Linked DNA regions of Homo sapiens: region 1 is linked to region 2. The links are contacts of gene promoters, found by promoter capture Hi-C in human tissues and cell types (Jung and others, 2019). All regions are on one chromosome and are shown on one strand. Each heading gives the region's core, a stretch centred on a gene start or on the middle of the fragment in contact. The rest is flanking DNA. Distances are from core to core; before and after follow the strand shown.

Region 1 (2,916 bases), core at 346-2,845, 35 kb before region 2:
CTATGGGGCCATAAAAGGTACCAACAGGATCCTCTTCAATGTGATTTTACCTTTGGTCTCTTCTAAAGTTTTTGTTGCCTGAGAACAACACACAGTGCTGCAGGGAATATTCATTTCTAAATTGTATATAAAATAATTATCTATTTTGTATAGTTTGTTCACCTTCACATCTTGTTAAAATCAGTGACTTCATGTTGGTAAAATCTGTTTTTAGACTGGAATTTAGAAAGCAGAATTTATTTGGCTTAATATACTGTAGAAGTTGGCATTATTTCTATTGGCTATTTTTCTACAATTTTTACAAGATGTATGCAACTTGAATGCCAGATATAATGTTCCTAAAGTAGGAAGAATAATAAAAATTGTGTATAAAGACTAAATGAGTTGTTGAAATTTTGTGGAAATGTAGATTAGAAACAAAGACAGGAAAAGCTACGATATGAACATTATCAAATATTAATTTAGCTTTATCATCATATAGCCTAGTGTTTCTCAAAATATGTGAGGATGATATTAGATGGTTTATAGGTCAGTATTTCTTATTTTAATAATTATGCATTTATTTTAATGTACATTAGAAAAAGTATAATTAGCACACAAAACCTGTGGGTTTCTTACATATGTGAGAAAAAGTTTGCTTTTAACATAAACGACTAAAAATAGTGAGTTGATTTAATGAATTCTTTTTTTTTTTTTTTTTTTTTTTTTGAGACGGAGTCTCGCTCTGTCGCCCAGGCTGGAGTGCAGTGGCGCAATCTCAGCTCACTGCAAGCTCCGCCTCCTGGCTTCACGCTATTCTCCTGCCTCTGCCTCCCCAGTAGCTGAGACTACAGGCGCCTGCAACCATGCCTGGCTAATTTTTTGTACTTTTTAGTAGAGACGGAGTTTCACTGTGTTAGCCAGGAGATTTAATGAATTCTAAATAAATAATATTGGTGGCATGTATCTATGGCAAAAATCATGAAGAAAGATGCAAATGGCTCTTGGCTCTTGACTTTCATTTATTGGTTTCACTTTTTACAAAGCCCTGACATTTTATCTTTAAAAAATGTATGATATGGTTCTTCTAAGGAAACAACTATGAGTAAATTATGAGTCACCTTCCTGTTTCACTTTGGAAGATTGACCATTGAAAGTCTATTTCCAAGGAAATTAATCCCAATTTCACTTGAAGTTGTTAACTATCTTATGGAAGCAGAAGTAATTTATGTTTTCAAGTTGATGCATTTAATAATATCTTTTAATAATTTCCCTTTATGTTTAAGGATTATTCAGTATCAACGTTTGAAGCATTCAAAAGCAAATAGGCTTTTTTAAATGATGTGTTTTGCAAAGCTTTTTATAATGTAAGATTTTGGTCATTCATAAGAATATTGAATTTGAAAATAGACAAAATTAGAAAACAGAAAACATTTTGTCAGTGTTTTTCAAAATTACAAAACAGAAAACTTATTCGAGTGTTTTTCAAAATTAGAAAACAAAAAGCATTTGTGTGTGTGTGTGTGTTTCTGTAAAAGAGAACGAGTAAAATGCCAACTCACTTCTAAGACCCTCTGCTTACCTTTTCCAGCAAAGTTTGCAAAATGATGGACTGCAAAGCATTATTTCCTTTTTTGAGGCCAGGAATTGCTGTGCTCATGCTCGCTTCTGGCTCTGGGCATGTGCCCAGACACACTGCTTCCATCTATAGGAACCTCTAAATTCCTTTCAAGAAGTAATTAGGTGACAGCTTTAGTCATTCCTTAATCCGTTTGGAGCTTTTATCCTTAAAGAATGTGTAATTTATTCAATAGGCCCATCTAACTTTTTTGTTTACTTACAATTTGCCTTTTTGAATTAACTATTATTATGGCCGCTAGATCTGATTAAGTTATGCAAAACTTCCCATGTGCAGATAAAGACATAATAAAGAACATTTGGTTTGGGTAATTGCTCTTCTATCTTTTCCTAGTTCAACATATGCCAAACATAATCCCATCCAATGCACCGGGTTTGAGGCATGTAAGGAATTTTGTATAATCATTCTTCTCCTTACAACACTCTTGTGAATTTTAATTTCTGACAAGCTGAGGGACTTGGCAAGGCACTAAATCTATTCTGACTTTAATTATTTCATCTATGAAGGAGTAGGAGGGTTGACTAGGTGATTGCAGTAGTCCTGTAGGGGTGTGAGGGTGCTTGTAAAAGGAAGGCTGACTTTGATATCATGTTTAATGGAGGAAAATGTTCATAGGATGTTTTGTGAGTTAGTCAATTGGAGCCTTAAGAGGATATTGTAATTTTAAAAATCAGTGTATCTTCAATTCCATGTCCAATTGACATCTATTCTGTTAATTACCTAATGACTTTATGCATTGATTCACTTTGTTACTTAAATAAGCTTATATCAAAAAGAAAATATATTGTTCTTATAAGTGGAATATCAGTATCATTTCCCATAAATGGTCGGTGATTATAAAAACAATTGCAAACAAGGGAAATCATGGTCAACTTCTACATAGACACTGTCTACTAAAAGCTCTGCACTCTAGTTCTGCTCTCGGGACTTAAAAAGGTTAGCAGGGCCTGAAGAGGTGTTTAAATCATACCTCCAACAACTAACTTTCCTCACCTGGAAGCCTGAGAGAGAACTGAAAGTGGAATAATTCTCTCTATATGGGATTGGATGTTATTTAATGATGTGGACAATGTGCCATTTAACATCATCTTGGTTCCCTGCTCAGCACTTCTTTAACAATGTTACAAAGGATCACAGCTGCTGAAATCCTATACAAATTCATGATTGCAAGGAACTGTGATCTCAATAATTTCTTCTTTGCCTAGCTTGTTTGAAAGCTGTCTTTTGCATCTCATAATGCTAAGCTTTCAGGTTCTGAAGATGAAGAGTCACTTAATTTTAGTTGCCAATCAGTACTC
Region 2 (2,800 bases), core at 118-2,617:
CATTTTATAATGTTTGCCCACAACAATATTTCTTTTCCTTGCCAGCTGTCTTCTTTTTTCCCTTGAAATCGATAAATAGTAAAATAGAACAGTAAAATGTTAAGAGTTGTCTGAAATGGGCAGAGTCAATGTTATTCCAGAAAGTATGAACCTTATAAGTCATTTGTCTCTTTCTCTGTATTTAGCAGGGCAAAACCTTACTGCTTTGACAAATAAGTGATATCACTGTCATTTCCAGACCTGTGCTCCCATTGCATGCTCCATAGCACACGTTATAAAGAAAATTTCAGAGCAGACCAACACATTTTTTGATGCTCCTAAACTATAACTAGAGCTGAATTTGCCAAAATACGATCTATAAAACACTAATCCTGCACAATGTGCAAATAATGCTGTGTTCTTCATCTTCTTGGAGATATACAATACATATCTGAAAAGTCCTATAGTAAATAAAATTGTTTAGTTTGGAATCCTTTCTTCTTGGAATTTACATAGGTAATCATGACAAAAAGTCAGAGAGTTTAGGGGGTTTCTGGTAAAAATGGGATATTTTTGGTAAATGTCCAGATTGATTTCTTTCTTTAGCTAAAATACCATTATAATGTTTTTGGAGTACACAAAAAAAATATGTGAAAATATATCCACCTCAGCACAGTTGCCCAAATTGTGGAAACAATATAATAATTAGCCATTCCAAGGTTCAGATTTAACACACTGAAAACCAGTCATTTTCCATAATATTTTTTTGGTCAGAATCAAAAGTGAATAGTTTAAACATTCCTTTGGTTAGCAAGATAATGGCAGGCGGAATCGCAAGAGTTGTACCAAGACTTTCTTTTTTATGGTGGTAGTAGCTCTGGAGATAATTGAATATATGAAGTCTAAAGTATGATAGGAATTATGACCCACACACAGAACTCAAAATCTGCTGGTGATGTTAATACTATTTCTTTTGTTAATTATATTTTTGTTTCTCAGGGTCCTAGGATTGGGACAGGCACTCAACCACAACTCTCCCTGCTGTCTGGTTAGAGCTAAATAAACTTCTCACAACATTGGCTCCACTCTTGAACCCTCCGTGGTAAGTCTACAGAAATTTATTAAATCCTGGCAGCTATCTCATTTAGAGATTATATAATAATTCCAATATATTCTTTTGTTTTCTGGTTGTTTCATTAGTCTAAAAACAAGCTAGATAATTCTTTGAATTAGGCTCGATAACAGAAGAGGGTAAAAGCTGTTTTCACTGCATTCCCACTGATACCACAATACACAGTTTCACAGAGTTGAAATAGAAAAAAGCAAAACACATGGATCATACCTGAGTAATTTCAGAGATCCCCACCCGGAAAAGGTTTCCTTGATTATGGCGAATTCAACGTGTCACTCGGGTTATGCTCTAATCGTCATATCAAACTCCAAAGGTTCAGTGGCTTTAGGTTTGGTTTACAATTCCTGGGAGTTAAACTTTAACTCACCCTGTCTCTTGCATCCATGCAGCCCTTTGACCAGATAATTGGGTCACTACAGCCCAGATATAATCTACTAAAACTATCTTTGTTATTTGTTTATAAAATTAAAATAAATGTTGTAAAAATGTTGGGGTAAATATTATTTTGAAGATATTTTATTGGCTTATACGATATATTTAAAAAGTAAAAACTCACTGCAATTGGATACCTAAGCTTTCCTTTATGTTACTTCCTTTGTTTTTTACTATGTCAAAGTGATATTATAGCTAAGGTAATTTAGGAGAATATTTCTTTGTTTTACACTTTTTATATCACTATATTACATGGAGTAAAGTGTGGAGTTTTAGGTCAAGTACGTAGATAAATGCTGGCTTACAAACAGAAAATACACAAAGCATTTATATAACAAAGTAGATAGATTTAGGCCAGATCAGGTTGGGGAAAGCATACTTCTTTGTATACAAGCTGCTCATTTAGATTTTAAGAGGAGGCCACTGTGTGAGAAGCACAATAATCAGCTACATACTGGGGTTATATGATAGCTGATGCTATTGTTCATTGCCTGAAATCTCAGTGGTAACTGAGTTTCTTGAAAAATAGAGAAATGGTGCTTTCAGAAATACAAACATTATACTCTGAGTTCTCTGGTAAGAGCTGTAGTCTACAGAAGAAATCCCTAAGGGTAATAAAGCCCACATTTAAAAAAGGAAGAAGAACCAAAACCTTCCTAATTTTGAGTAAATTTTGGTTTAAGAGCTTGGAAACCACACATTCCAAAACTAGAATTAGAGGATACCCCTACTTGCCTTTAGTTCTAGTAAAAGGAGTCTAATTTTCTAGGAACCAACTATTAAGAGAGCATTTTTGTCTATAGAAAAGCACAAAACAAGCAATCCTTCTATAATATAGACGCAAAGGAAGATCCATCAATTAAGCACATCTATGAATATGTAAGAGAAGAGATAAAAGATACTGTTGGAATGCTAGTTCTGCTTACAGTTTTTAGTTCTCAAACATGGAATTATTTCAGTTCTCAAACATGAAATGATTTACCATTTTCCCATAGCAATGGATGATAGAGTTTAACAAAAACACCCCAGGAACAATTGTTTTACCCCAGAATTGCTCCCCTGATGTTAGACCTAGAGAAAGCATTTATGCCCCACCCAGCTAGATAGCTGAATGAGGGACACATCCCTCTACTTCCTTCTTGGGAAGGGATTCCCTCACAAAGTAGCCCTGATGGTTTCCTAGTGAAAGCTCAGTCTGGGGTTGCATGGTTCCCAATTGAGTGGGGAATTCTTTGAGTTTGCCCAGTCCAATAAAGA

Evidence for each region. Contacts are between HindIII fragments. The study calls those that stand out against the background at their distance.
Region 1: a contact is called between a fragment that was not itself captured here and the fragment with the promoter of A1CF in region 2, in 1 of the 25 tissues and cell types used here (aorta).

Annotation. Positions count from the first base shown.
Region 1 is chr10:50,849,104-50,852,019 of GRCh38, forward strand. All of the region lies in intron 3 of A1CF (APOBEC1 complementation factor), which reads right to left. Among named protein-coding and RNA genes, the nearest start is that of A1CF, 35 kb to the right of the region's middle. RefSeq lists a silencer at 752-952. The HindIII fragment of the contact is 3,059 bases long and covers 67-2,916 here.
Region 2 is chr10:50,884,260-50,887,059 of GRCh38, forward strand. A1CF (APOBEC1 complementation factor) reads right to left here and starts at 1,368. Exons shown (of 13, transcript NM_014576.4): 1 at 1,322-1,368. The HindIII fragment of the contact is 7,461 bases long and covers 1-2,800 here.